Linked DNA regions of Homo sapiens: regions 2 and 3 are each linked to region 1. Evidence: promoter capture Hi-C in 16 types of primary human blood cells and fetal thymus (Javierre and others, 2016). All regions are on one chromosome and are shown on one strand. Each heading gives the region's core, a stretch centred on a gene start or on the middle of the fragment in contact. The rest is flanking DNA. Distances are from core to core; before and after follow the strand shown.

Region 1 (4,605 bases), core at 1,185-3,684:
CTTGCACTGCGGGCAGCACTGGCTCGTGTCGACGTGGATGCAGCGCGGGTGCAGCCTCGGGCACTCGGGCTGCGCGCACAGCGGCCCCTCCTCGGTGCACAGGCACGGGCAGGCCGAGGGGCCCGGCGCGAACTTCTCCCCGATCGCGTACACGAAGCCGCTCTCGTCCACGCAGCCCTTGCCACGGTAGTCCGGGTACACGTACTCCTCGGGTGGCTCGGGCGTGGGCGCGAGTTCCGGGCCAATCGCGTCCTGGGCGGCTGCGGCCAGGGCTTCCGCCTGCGGGGTGTCCCCGCGGGGCCGGACCTGCAGATCCCCGGCCTTGGCGCCCCCGCCCTGGGAGACCCAGGCCTGCTTCAGCTTGCTCCACGGCTCACGGCCGGCGAGCCCACGGCCGCTCTTGCTCTTCCAGTCCCGGCCGCTGCCGCCCTCGTCCCTCGCCGGGCGCCCGAGCTCGTTCACCCGCCCCGGGCCGTCCCGAGAGGCGTGCTCACGCTTCTCCTGGCCCGGCTGCTCTGGTGCCTGGGCCAGCTTCTCCAGCGGGATGCTCGGACTGCACAGAGCCACCATCAGGCAGCAGGTGACCAGGAGGGAACTGGAGAGCGCGCCAACTGCCATCGCAGTGGAGCTGGGCATCCCCTACCACGTCCCGGCGGGCGGGCGGGCGGGGAGCGCGGCCGAGGGGCGAGTCGCATTCACAGCCCGGGGGCGCGCCGCCGCCAGCCGGGAGCCGCCGTCCCTGCGGAGAGAACAGCAGCACAACTGAGCCCCGCGGCCCGCGCGCGCCCCGGCCCGCCGCGGCCCCCACCCGGGCTCCGGCATAGCTCTAGATTAACGAGCTGGGCGACGGGGGCGGGGGCAGCATGCCCAGCGTCGGTGCACGGCCGGGGTTCTTAGACATCACAAACTGTGGAGCGATACATTGGAAGCGAAATCCAAGAACGACACCGGCCGGCGTGTTTCTGATGTAGTCGTGATTAGTGTTGGAGATGGCCAAGGGCGGCTTGCGGAGCCCAGGGAACGCAGCGAGCCAGGCCCGCGCCCCCCTGCAAAGCTCTGCCTTGAACCACGTAATTCAGGCACCCAGGGTGTCCCTCCCTAGGTCCTGGCCACATTTCCCGAAGGTTATTAAATGGAGAATTCAGCAGTGGAGTTAGAGACGGACGAATGTACAGGAAGATAAGAGGGAAACTCTTCCTCATTTGCTTTAGGGGGTTGTGCTGGGAAAATGCGGGGAGGTTAAACAAAGCTTCTCCTAGGACTCCACGATTCATTTCTAACAACTTCTTAAAAGACTCCCGTCTCGGGAGCAGACGCCCCCTCCCCGCTCTCTAAGCCCCGCTGCATGAAAGGATGCCCTCGGCCCCTTGCCAGAGGGCCGGGTCGGGGATTCCCGGGGCTTCAGCTCCTCTGCCGGCCCGCCCCTCCGAGCCTTGGGAGCCAGGTCGCCGGCCGCAGCGCTCAGTCTTGTAGTGTCCTGGCTGCGGAGCAGAAGCGCCCGGGCAGCACCAAGGTGTGCAGTGCGGGAGGCTGGGGCCCCAGGGCGCAGAGTGGGCGCGAGACCCTCCTACTCGCTGGATCCCGGCCAGCCTTTCTGGATTCCAAAGTTTCTGCCGCCCAAAGGGGCTGGGAGAGCCCGAGACGCCGCAGGACACCGGCAATCCAGCCTCTCTCCGCCTCACTCCCCGAACGCCCCCACTCTGCGCACTCCGGTGCGTCTGTCCCCTCCCCCTCAGCCCTCCTCCCTGAGGGCTCCGGACGTGCCCGGCCCTGCTGACCCCCTGCCCGGTCCCTGCCGACCTCAACACTGGGCGAAGCGCCCATATTCACAAACTTGGGCGGGGGAGGGGGTTCCTCCGGAGCAGCTGAGCGGCTGAACCCAGCTGGAGCGCGTCCGGCCGCGCGGGGACACCCAGCATGCACCCTCAGCCCTGAAGACCGGCGCCAAACCTACATACATGAGCGCAGGGCGCGGGCCGGACGCCGGGCTCGCAGCGGGCGCAGGGGTAGCAGCGGCGGGCGCGGGCCCGGGTTGCCAGCGCCCATCCTGGGCCGGCCGGCGACCCGCGTGGGGCGGACCACTAACAGCCCAGCCCCACCTGCGCGCTCCGCCTGGCGCGCACACCGGGCTAGGGCGTCTCTGGGGAGTCGCTCATCGCGCTGTCAGCTGCCGGTAGTCGCGGCCCCAACTCGCGTCAGTGCCCGCGTCGCCCTCAGTCGCTCATCCTCCGGCCTCGTCCCCGCTTCTCCGAGACCAAGCGCGCCCCGGGGGCCACCCTGGCGCCGCCTCGCTCCTCTCCGCGGAGGGGTTCGGGGAGCTCTCCAGACCCGGCAGCCGGAATGTCTGGGCAGCCGTGGCGCGTCGGAGGGAAAAGAGAAGCCCGGAGCGCGGCCGGCGCGCGAGTGGCACCGAGGCCAGCATGGGAGCTAGCGCGCCCGCCTCCCGCCTCCCCCTGCCGCAGCCGCCTCCGCCCGGCTCCCGTTCCGCTCCCTCCTCTGCTGCCCCCGCTCTGGAGGCCCCGCCTTGGCCCGCGCTGCCCCGGGGGAGGCCCTCGCGCTGCCCCCGGAGAGGCCCTACCGCCGCACCCGCTCCCTTTGCTGCGCCGGACCAACCTGTCACTCGTCCGCGCGGCCGCGTCCCCACCTCCGCAGCCGGCCGCAGACCCTGCCAGGGCTGCCATTCTCCAGTCGAGTCATTCACTTTGCGCTGGACCTTTCATCTTGGCTTTTCTCTTTTCTTTAATTTCTTCCTTCCTAATTGGCCCCCTCTGGCTTTCCTCTTTGTGGACAGCTTGTTTCAGCTACTGTGTTCAGATTGGGATTCGAAGGCCGTGTTAGTTTAGCAGACTGTTGAGACTTTCTCGTCTTTGCATTCAGAAACCCAGAGAAATAGACGTTTACGAGTAAGAAACGTAAAAATCTCAAGCGCGAACTTTCTGAATCTCTGCCAATCTCTCCCCGCTCCCATCTTCCTCTTTCTGCCTGCTCTCTCTTCTACTACAAATAGAAACCTGTTTCCTAACTTTGCTAGAATCCTCAACTGTTAAGCAGAGGCCCGGTTGTTTTTACTCTTTGATCTTGTGTAAACGAGAAAACGTCAATAGTACCTGTTCAAATTAATCCCCGAAATTGAATTTTCATGGAAATGGCCCATGGCAGTGGTTCCCACTCACGGCATTTTAGAATCCCTGAAAGTGCTCGGACGGTAAACAGATAAGCTTCCCTGCAAGGTCAGGCGCTCTGGCTGGTGGGAACTGGGGAGGCTGGTTTGGGACACAGTTATGTCTATCTTTTAATAGTATAGACAAACAAATCTTAGCTGAGGTGCTAGGGAGCCCTCCTTGAAAGCCTGAGAAGGCTGCCCCTCCACCCCCTCCAACACATACACAACCAACAGGGCTGGATGGAGGATTTCTTTCTCTCTCTCTCTCTCTTTTTTTTTTTTTTCAGACGGAGTCTCGCTCTGTGGCCTAGCCTGGAGCGCAGTGGCGCGATCTCCACTTACTGCAAGCTCGATTCCCGGGTTCATGCCTTTCTGCCGCCTCAGCCTCCTGAGTAGCTGGGACTACAGTCGTCCGCCATCACCCCCAGCTAATTTTGTTTTTGTATTTTTAGTGAGACGGGGTTTCACCATGTTGGACATGATGGTCTCGATCTCCGGACCTCGTGATCCTCCTGCCTCGGTCTCCCAAAATGCTGGTGAGCCACCGCGCCTGGCCTGGATGGAGGATTTCTATGTACAGGATGATTTGAGCCCTTCTGCTGTTTCAGTTCTCACTCTCATTTTTCCTTTTTTTTTTTTTTTTAATGTTTTAGAGACACGATCTCACTTTGTCACCCAGGCTTCAGTGCAGTGGCATGATCACGGCCCACTGCAGCCTCAAACTCCTGCCTCAGACTCCGGAGGAGCTGGGTGTACAGGTCACCACACAGGGCTAATTTTTTGTTTGTTTGTTTTGTTTTGTTTCGTTTAGGTTTTTTCTTTTGTTTTTTTTTTGTTTTTTTTTTTTGGTAGAGATGGGATCTTGCTTTGTTGCCCAGGCTTGTCTTGAACTCCTGGCCTCAAATGATCCACCCGGCCTCTCAAAGTGCTGGGATTACAGGTGTGAGCCACCACACTCGGCCCTTTCGTTTCTTGTTACCCTCAGAAAAGAGACAGGCCACATTTGCTGTGGCTGCAGCTGCCTACCCACCCACCTGCCTCTCATCACATGCTCTAATCAGTTATGGCTTCTGTGTCTTTATGATGCTCTAATCCAAATATCACACCTTTCACAACACCACCAAAATAAAAACACGGCTCGAGGTGTGATCATATGTAATGTGCAAAATGGGCCCTCGGTTCTATAAAATCAAGTGCTTTTATAGCATTGGTTAGGCTACAAATTTTGTTATTTGACTTATTAGCTAATTCTGTTCTTGTCATTAAACATCCTGTTTGTTTTGTTTTGCCAACAGTACTCTCATGTGGTTACGATGGGGTAGCCCCAAACACATGTGACTAATAAGAACGAAACAGTAACATTATGTGTCCAGGATTCTAACTGAAAAATTGATTGGGGGCTCAGCTGAGGAAATAATGATGTCCCTTTATTAATCCCACCT
Region 2 (4,605 bases), core at 1,236-3,735, 1.5 Mb after region 1:
CTATCTCTCATCTCTCTCGGCATCATCTATTTCTCTGCTTTCTGTGATAATCTCATACTCACAGATAATATGGATCACAAAAGCAAGAAACAACATTCAGAACCAGAACTAGAAGAGAGACAGGTCTTCACTGCATTGTTGGAAGGACATCACCATTGTCCAAGCTTGTCAGGGGGATCAGGCCTACCTAGGGGCCCAGGGGTCTTTAATTCTAGGACAAAGGAGTGGGGCCCAAATAAGAGACACATTGTCTGATTCAGCTATAGTTGGAGACCCTGCATGGGAGCCTATTGGGCATGTGTCCAATTTAATAAAAAGGAAATTGCTATGCTGGTTCCCATTCAGCCATCAATTTTTGGTACTAGCCAGTGTATTCAATGAGTTAGAGCCAGTGTTGGGCTGGTAAATATTTAAAAACTAACTCTCCAGAAAAAAAAAATTCTGATTTGGAGCACTTGCCAATTTCCATGGTGCAAAAGCTCCTGCATGGCCCAGTTCATGCTGCCACCATAACGTCATTAAACGTAGAGAAGGGAAGAACTGCACTTAGCACAAGACTACATAGTATTTCCATCATGTGGATACAACAAAAGCAAATCATCTCAGGAAGAGAGATAACAGTAAAACATACTAAAATAATTAGGAAGTGATGAATCTTGAGTAATTATTACTTGTGTTTCTAACATGATTTATTTCATCATAAGTTTATATAATTTATTTATAATGATGACATCTATGTTTAACAACCAGCTTGCAAAATTCCTGAAAATTTAACAATCCGATCTCTCAACTCAGTGCCACTCAACCCAGCACACCACTGGGAGAGGCCAAGAGGGAGGAAGGGTGAGCAGTCATTCTGCAAGCCCAGCTTGCAACAAGACTGTGTATGACACCATTGCTGTAGTTATAAGAACGAAGCAGCAAGTTTGAATAACTGGACTGCCTTGCAAGGGCCAATAGTCATGAACATGAAATTCTCTGAAATATTAAAGACGACAAACCTGGAAGTGGTCCTGCGCCAAAGTGACCCCTTGTATAGCAGATAAAATGAGATGCCTTATCCCATTTTGCTTGCAACTCAGAGTAGCACACAAAATGTCCTTGGTCCAGGAAGGGTTTTCTGCCAGAGGAAACACACAGAGAAATAATTAATAGACAGTCCTCTCCTGAACTAGCCACTCTCACAAAATCACTTTTTAAAGATTCAAAGTGATACAAATTCCTAAACATTTCTTAAATCATCAAGATGAACATTCAGATGATGAGGGTAAAGCTGTGCCTTTTGAGTTCCAAATGTAATAAAATAAAGATTTTGCTTTTCTGGGCCTAATTGATTTTGTAAATATTAATTATCTCTACCTCCTCAAACTGGCTCCTTTCCCTGTATCCCCTACAAGTGGGGTACCCATTCACCCCAGTTTGCCCAGGACAGACTTGCTTTTCACCTATTCTTGCATGGTTATGAACAGTGCCCTCTGTCATTCTCAAAAGTGCCCCAGTTTGAAGGATGAATTACACACTGTCTATGTGTGGTCTTCTCCATGCCCCATGCCTCACAAGTCACTTCCTGGAAGCCAGTCATGACTCTCCTCCCCCTGGTCCTCACAGCCAACCAACCTCCCCATCTGCTCAGCATGACCTCCCAATGTCTCTCCATCTGTGCGTCTGTCCAGCACCCATAGATCACGCCCAGGAAACTGCTGTGCTCTTAACAGTCCCACTCCCACCTCACCCTTCCAATCTGCCTTACGCTCTGATCCACAAGGCTCTTCCCCAAAGGAGATCCCCCATTACAGGAATCTGTGCAAAGGCTCCATGTTGCATCCAATGTCTTTCCGCAGCCTCAGGTGCCTCCACCTCTCTGCAGTCATGCCCTATGTCCCTCCTGTCTCCTCAAGGCCATCAGATACAAGGCATCACTCTCCCTTCCTGAACCTACGTATCTTTTAGAGTTCTGCCTCCAGACACCCACCTTTCCCAGGCTGAGCAAAGCCCCTCCCCTCCCTGCTGCGCAGATGCCTGTGTGCTCACCTCCCACCGCACGATAAATCCATCTGCACAAGACCTGCCACGGGCAAATTTTCTTATCACTGCCTTCCTGTCATTGTGGCACCTAGCACAGGGCTTTGTACCTCCTAGATGCTTGGTCATGACAGAAAATAAAATACATTTTTATAAGAAATAAAATCTTTTTTTAATTAGAAAAAAAAATGTTATCCTGACTCTTAAATTATGAATAATAAATTGTTTCTCAAAAGTCCTTTATAAAAAGTTCTGAGCCAGGCACGGTGGCTCACGCCTGTAATCCCAGCACTTTGGGAGGCCGTGTTGGGCAGATCACGAGGTCAGGAGATCGAGACCATCCTGGCCAATGTGGTAAAACCCCGTCTCTACTAAAAATACAAAAATTAACCGGGCATGGTGGCGGGCACCTGTAATCCCAGCTACTCAGGAGGCTGAGGCATGAGAATTGCTTGAACCCAGGAGGTAGAGGTTGCAATGAGCTGAGGTCGCACCACTGCACTCCAGCCTGGGCGACAGAGCGAGACTCTGTCTGAAAAAAGGAAGGAAGGAAGGAAGGAAGGAAGGAAGGGAAAAAACAGTTCCAGCATATTACTAAGTGAAAGAAGCCCATCTGAAAAGGCTACATATTGTATGATTTCAACTCAATGACGTGCTGGAAAAGACAAAAACTATGGAGACAGTAAAAAGATCCGTGGTTGCTAGGGGCTAGAGGGGTGGGAGAGATGAATGGGCAGAGCACAGAGGATTTTTCAGGCAGTAAAACCCTGTGTGTGATACTGTAACACTGGATGTATGTCATTATATGCTTGTCCTAACCCATAGAATGACAACACCAAGAGTGAAGCCCAATGTGAACTGTGGACTCGGAATGATGCTGTGTCAGTGTGGGTTCATCAATTGTAACAAATGTGCCACTCTGATAATGAGGGAGGCTATGGTGGGGAAGGGAGTATATGGGAAATCCCTGCACCTTCCATTCAAGGTTGCTGCGAATCTAAAACTACTCTAAAATATAAAATTTATTAATTACTAAAACAGTTTTCAACCACATAAAATGCAGAGTAGACACAATATATCCAAAGTCATGCTTTCCAGAAGCAACCCACCTTGATGCCTTATTTGTTTTTCTTTTCTCATTAATCTTATTTTACTAATTTCAAAGACAGGTATCTTTATTGTAGGAAATATAAAATGTGTCACTTAAGTAATCTCTTATTAAAATTTGAAATGAAGGTAATAATGTGCTGTTATATATCACAGCACTTATCTTTAAGCATAAACATATCCTCTGGTCTCGGGAAGACACAATAATGTGTTTATAAGTTATGTTGTTCAAACCTAAAAGAGCAGAGAATGCACCCTGAAAAAGCTGATGTAATGTATGGCATCAGGCAAGCTGTGGGCTGTGTCAGCCCCTTGCTTCCTCAATGTAAAATGACAACGTGGAGTCGACAGTGACCAAGCCCAGCATTCCTGCAAGGTTAGGTCAGGGATGATATGATCATGGGATGCAGTGCTGGGCTGTCAGGCCATCTGGCCTCCATGTGCCTCACATCTAACACGTCTTGAAGCCTGCCCTCAAAGGCACCACCCTCAAGGACACTTGACAACTGTCTCGACACTAACAAGAGCTGGTTTTGAGCCTTGACTCCTCCAACTTTCCCGGGTACCCTCTTTCTCCACCTCTCATTGCCTCTCCCAATCCCTGGCTCCAGCCCTTCCTACTTGCTGTGGCCCCTCTTCTTGGCTCCAAGGACACATTCAGACCCACTCTGGCTTTCCAGATCTGCCAGCGCTCTCTGGACCCCTTTCCTCTCCTCCCTTCAGCCCCATGGACCCTCTCAGGTCTCTTCAACTGGAAATGGGCTCTGACTGCTTCACTCTGAAACCCTGGGAAACTCACTCTCACTCTCTGGGCCTCAATTCGTCAATTAGGGAAACTGGAAGATTAAAGTAGCTGCCCACTGAGGCTCCTTCCGTTGCATGAGCTCTCCTGCATTGTCCTTGGCATCTTTAAAGCACTAGATCAGGAGAAGGAAAGTTGTCACTTTCCTCCTGGAGATACTGAACTCAACTCTGTGATATGACGAAAATATAGTGCATTTTCAGCAACAATAATAATAACAGATCTTATTCTTGTTCCCTTTATATGATGGGAGAGGAGGGGCTATTTGCCCACATTGGTCAATTCCACCCCATCCCTTTAACTTTATGGGATCTGTCACTGCCCTCCTATTCTACAGGATGGAGTAACAATTCAATAAGGACAGTGGGGTGGCAGTTTAAATGTTAGTTATGCTTGAGTTTCCTTGAAATAAAATATAAAAATTAAAAATTAATTATCTGTTACTAATGTAATCTCAAGTATGCTATATTAATTTAGCAGCTGCAATACAGAATGGCAAAATAAATATAAATTCATACATTAATGAATGTTTAATTCATTTAAAAACCATTATATTAGCTGACTGTGAAATGTCCAGATAATTGTGTCTTCAAACGTGGCTGAATTCAATATGGAAGATAAGCATTCAAGAACGAGGAAGAAGTTTGATTTGAATTTTACCTGAGCACACTTCC
Region 3 (4,605 bases), core at 619-3,118, 1.5 Mb after region 1:
AGGAGAAATGGTGTGTAGCTTTTGTCACTTCTTCTACTCATCTTTCTAATTGCAGCTGCCCTTTAAAAAAAAGTGGCACACAGTGACTGGCCCCTGACTTATGGTGGGGAGTGACAGGGATCCAGCGCAGCTCCAAGAGACCAGATTGATGTGCCGAATTAATATAGCAAACTGTGCTTTGCTGAAGGCTTCAGAAATTCATTGTCAGCTGAGTGAATCAGAAAGTACATGGACTTGGGAATGAGCTGCACCTGCACGTGGCCCTCACATGGAGGTCGGGCTGCCCTAACATCCTGAGCCATATCTTGTATTTAATCAACTTTCATAGAGCCCTTCATATAGAAGGTACCTGATAAATAAGAGCTGTTGTTATTAATGATGATGTCATTTTCATTGTGTCTGGGAGACTGAATCCAACCCACTATCTTATCCTTCAAAGAAATCTTGGTACAGATGATGGCCCTTGTCACAGTAATTATGTGGGCCTCTACAAGCACTTACTTCAAATCGGGGACCTTTGTGCACATAACAAAGTGGCCACTAAAGTAGCATCGTGCCAATGGGAGCTCTGTTTCCCAAAAGGCAAACTGTAAAGTTGGAAGAGAGGCTGTGGTGAGCAAATGCAGAGCTAAACCATAAGCATGTTAGCGAAAAATACGAATTCCACCAAGATAGAGGTGGGTTTGCAAATTATGGGGATGCAAGAAATGTTTATTCTCCTCCTTATGGGTTTAAAATGTAATCATTCTGAAAACAAATATTTGTTCTTGGAGTGTGTGTGTGTGGGTGTGTGTGTGTTCATTCCAACATTTACTCCCTGGACTCTTGAAGTAATAGAAACTAAGGAAATCATGCGTGGCTGAAATGGCAAATCTACCCTTTGCTGACTATAAAACTGTTCACCCAAACTCAGGGTGCCTACAGCCACCTTACCATAGTACAAACCCTGCAGCCTCTCTAATGAACCCAGAGGTTGTGAAATACTTCCCTAAAGGGAAAACAATGGTACTTGGAGCAAGATCAGTGCCTAAGGGTAAGAGGGGAAGCTTCTGGAAACTTAAGTAAAGATTCAAACAGTAGAGGCCAGAAGGAGGGGAAGCTTCTGGAAACTTAAGTAAAGATTCAAACAGTAGAGGCCAGAAGGAGGAGAAGCTTCTGGAAGGGGCAGCTTGAGAGCAGTGAGCTGTGGTTTGGAGCTAGGTTGCCCCTACATGGGTTCTGGGCCCGTCCGGAAAGTGCTGGGCCTGGGCTTGCCCCAGCTCCTCCTCACTTCCCACTCTCCACTCTCTCCTGCAGACTTCATCATCTTTAGCTTCCTCCAGTCCCTCCCTGCCCTCACACTGCTGCTTGTCAGAGGATCATGCTTGTCAGAGCCGGCACACACAGGGGATTGGGCTTCCTGTGCTGCCCACCCCTCCACATTCTCTCCAGGGCAGGCCCTGGCAGAGCTGGATGCTTCCCGCTGACAGATAGGGCCACCGTGCAGGGAGCAGCACCTAACTCGGGCCGCTCAGGAGTGGACCATGCACAATCCCAGCCTCCTCAAACATGCTCCAGGGAGGTGGCCCTTACAGAGGAGAGAACACCTGGCATTAGGAAGCGGTGCTGTGTTTTTGCAGTGGGTCCTTCCACAATGAGCATGGAGATCACCACCAACTCTGTCCCAATGCCCTGACACTTATTTCCAAGGACCCCCTGAAGGGTCTCCTGAACATCCCTTTATTACAACAAAGTCTTCTTGAGCCCCACCTTGGATTCAGCAAACAGGTGACACCAGAGGCTGGTGGAGACCACTGCAGAGTGGCCAGGTGCTGATCTCCCACTGCCGCACCCCTAGGACTACTGTACTTATCTGCAGCCACCACAGCAGAGTCCTGCAGAGGACTGCCCCCAGCCAGCATGCTCTCCATACCTTGTAAATGAAAGCTCGCACATCCAAGTTTCGACTCAGCAACACAATCAGAGAATACACTTTTGACCCTGGCAGGCTACAGAGTTCCTCCGCTGCGATCCAAGATTTTTCCCCTTTGGGAAATGTCAGCAGGAGATGAAGGATTTCCTGATCACACTTTCCAGACAGAGCTACGGTGAGGGCACTGAAGAGAACCTGTTTCAAAGCACAGAGATTAGAGGTGAGTATACCTATGACGTCATGTGCTTCACCACCTCAGACCGGAGCTTCATCGGCAGGGAGTCGCCCAAGAGTGGATTTCCCAACTCCCGGGACTGACCTGCAGATGCGGGGAGCCCAAACTGGGGTTCGATTCTCAACATTTTGATGGAAATGTTTCTGAAGTGCGCACATCATTCTCTGACTTCTTATAAAATTTGCCCTCGCTTGAGGTCTTTGGATCACCCTTCTGAAACTCTGTCCCTCTGCTCTCCACGAGGCTCACTCTGAATGCCCACCAAGCCCCCACCCTCCGATGCCACCCCCGTAGTTAGCATCTGTGTCTCGTTTGTCTGATATTAAGTCTTACCCTTGGCTTTCAGTTTATCAGCTTCCACTTTTCACCGTCATCAGTGTGAAGCTGATATTTTTTGCTCCTTCATTTTTAGATTGAAAACAGGATTACCAAGCTTGTTATATATTTTTTTAAAGCAAGTACACTCAGAAGGAGGCACTGAGGACAACTTATATTAGTCTCTAGTTTATTACTATCATGCATCGCAATTAAAGGCTTTGACACACCTCTTCATTTGGGTATGCTTTTCAGTTAAGGACATTTGTGATATGCCAAATTACAAAGCAAAATAAAACAAAAACCATACTTCCTGCTCCATGTTTTTGCTCCTGATGGGTATGATTGCTGTGAAACATTCAGGCCAACTGAGGCCGAAGTGCATGAACCTATGTGAATAGGAACCATGCTCTCTGAAGAAGAGCACGGAGAACTCAACAGATGCCATAAAATGTTCCCAAAATACAGTAAGATATAAATAATGGTGTAGTAGTCAGGGTCCTCCAGAGAAACAGAACCAAGAGAATGTGTGTGTGTGTGTGTGTGTGTGTGTGTGTGCAGTCATGTGTCTCATAATGACAAGGATACATTTGGGAAATGCACCATTGGGTAATTGTTTAATTGTGTGAACATCATAGTGTGCACTTACAGCATCCTAGATGATACAGCCTCCTACATACCTTGGCTATAGGGTATGGTCTATTGCTCCTAGACTACAAACCTGTACAGCGTGTCACTGTACTGAATCCTGTAGGCAGTTGTCACACAGTGGTAAGTATTTGTGTGGCTGAACATATCTAAACATAGAAAAGGTACAGTAAAAAGGTACAGTAAAAATACAGTAGTATAATCTCATGGGACCACCATCCTATATGGGGTCCATTGTTGACCAAAATATCGCTATCTGGTACATGATGACAAACCACATATACGGTGGTAGTCCCATAAGATTATAATGGAGATGAAAAATATGATTATAATGGAGATGAAAAAATTCCTATCTTCTAGTGACATCAGCCATTGTAGTGTTGTAGCCTGGCGTATTATTCAAGTGTTTGTGGCAGTGCCGGTGTAAACAAAACTGCTGCACTCCCATTCATAGCAAAAGTATCACACACACAATTATGTACAGTACATAATAGTGACAAGGATAATAAATGACTATATTACTGGTTTATGTACTAACTATACTATATTATCATTATTTTAGAGTATACTCTTTCTAGTTATTAAAAAAAATTTAACTGTAAAACAGCCACAGGCAAGTCCCTCAGGAGGTATCCAGAAGAAGGCATTGTTATCACAGGAGACGACAGCTCTACGCATGTTATTGCCCCTGAAGACCGCCCAGTGGGACAAGCTGTGGAAGTGGAAGACAGTGGTATTCATGATCCTGACCTCATGTAGGCCTAGACTAGACTGTGTGTTTGTGTCTTAATTTTTAAAAATACGATTTTAAAAGTTAAAAGTAAAAAAACTTAAAATAGAAAAAAGCTTATAGAATAAGGACACAAAGGAAAACAATTGTACAGCTGTGCAATGTATTTGTGTTTTAATATAAATGTTATCACTGAAGAGTCCAAAAGTTTTTTAAAATTTTAAAGGTTCGGCAGGGTGCAGTTGCTCACACCTATAATCCCAGTACTTTGGGAGGCTAAGGCAGGCGGATTGCCTGAGGTCAGGAGTTTGAGACCAGTCTGGTCAACATGGTGAAACCCTGTCTCTACTTAAAATACAAAAAAAATTAGTTGGGTATGGTGGCGTACACCTGTAATCCCAGCTGCTTGGGAGACTGAGGCAGGGGAATTGCTTGAACCAAGGAGGTGGAGCTCACAGTGAGCCGAGATTGTGCCACTGCACTCCAGCCTGGGCAACAGAGCAAGACTCTGTCTTAAAAAAATAAATAAATAAATAAAGTTTATAAAGTAAAAAAAGTTACAGTAAGCTAAGGTTAATCTATGATTGAAGAAAGAAATTTTTTTTTATAAATGTAGAAACACACAATGTTTATTGAGTCTACAGTGGTGTACAGGCATGTCCTAGGCCTGCACATCCGCTTGCCACTCACTCACTGACTCACCCAGAGCAACTTCAGTCCTGTAGCTTTATTCATGCCAAGTGCCCCATACAGGCATACCATTTT

Evidence for each region. The method cuts DNA at HindIII sites, captures the fragments that hold promoters and counts their contacts. A CHiCAGO score of 5 or more calls a contact.
Region 2: a fragment that was not itself captured here is called in contact with the fragment with the promoter of VWC2 in region 1 in 1 of 17 cell types (M2 macrophages); the score reaches 7.3 in M2 macrophages.
Region 3: a fragment that was not itself captured here is called in contact with the fragment with the promoter of VWC2 in region 1 in 1 of 17 cell types (M0 macrophages); the score reaches 5.3 in M0 macrophages.

What each region holds. Positions count from the first base shown.
Region 1 is chr7:49,771,467-49,776,071 of GRCh38, reverse strand. It overlaps VWC2 (von Willebrand factor C domain containing 2), which reads right to left and starts at 2,434. Exons shown (of 4, transcript NM_198570.5): 1 at 1,959-2,434; 2 at 1-739. The coding sequence starts at 636. The HindIII fragment of the contact is 1,969 bases long and covers 1,252-3,220 here.
Region 2 is chr7:48,284,475-48,289,079 of GRCh38, reverse strand. It overlaps ABCA13 (ATP binding cassette subfamily A member 13), which reads right to left. Exons shown (of 62, transcript NM_152701.5): 20 at 1,002-1,120. Among named protein-coding and RNA genes, the nearest start is that of ABCA13, 120 kb to the right of the region's middle. The HindIII fragment of the contact is 4,638 bases long and covers 167-4,605 here.
Region 3 is chr7:48,307,449-48,312,053 of GRCh38, reverse strand. ABCA13 (ATP binding cassette subfamily A member 13) reads right to left here. Exons shown (of 62, transcript NM_152701.5): 24 at 1,913-2,107. Among named protein-coding and RNA genes, the nearest start is that of ABCA13, 140 kb to the right of the region's middle. The HindIII fragment of the contact is 1,428 bases long and covers 1,155-2,582 here.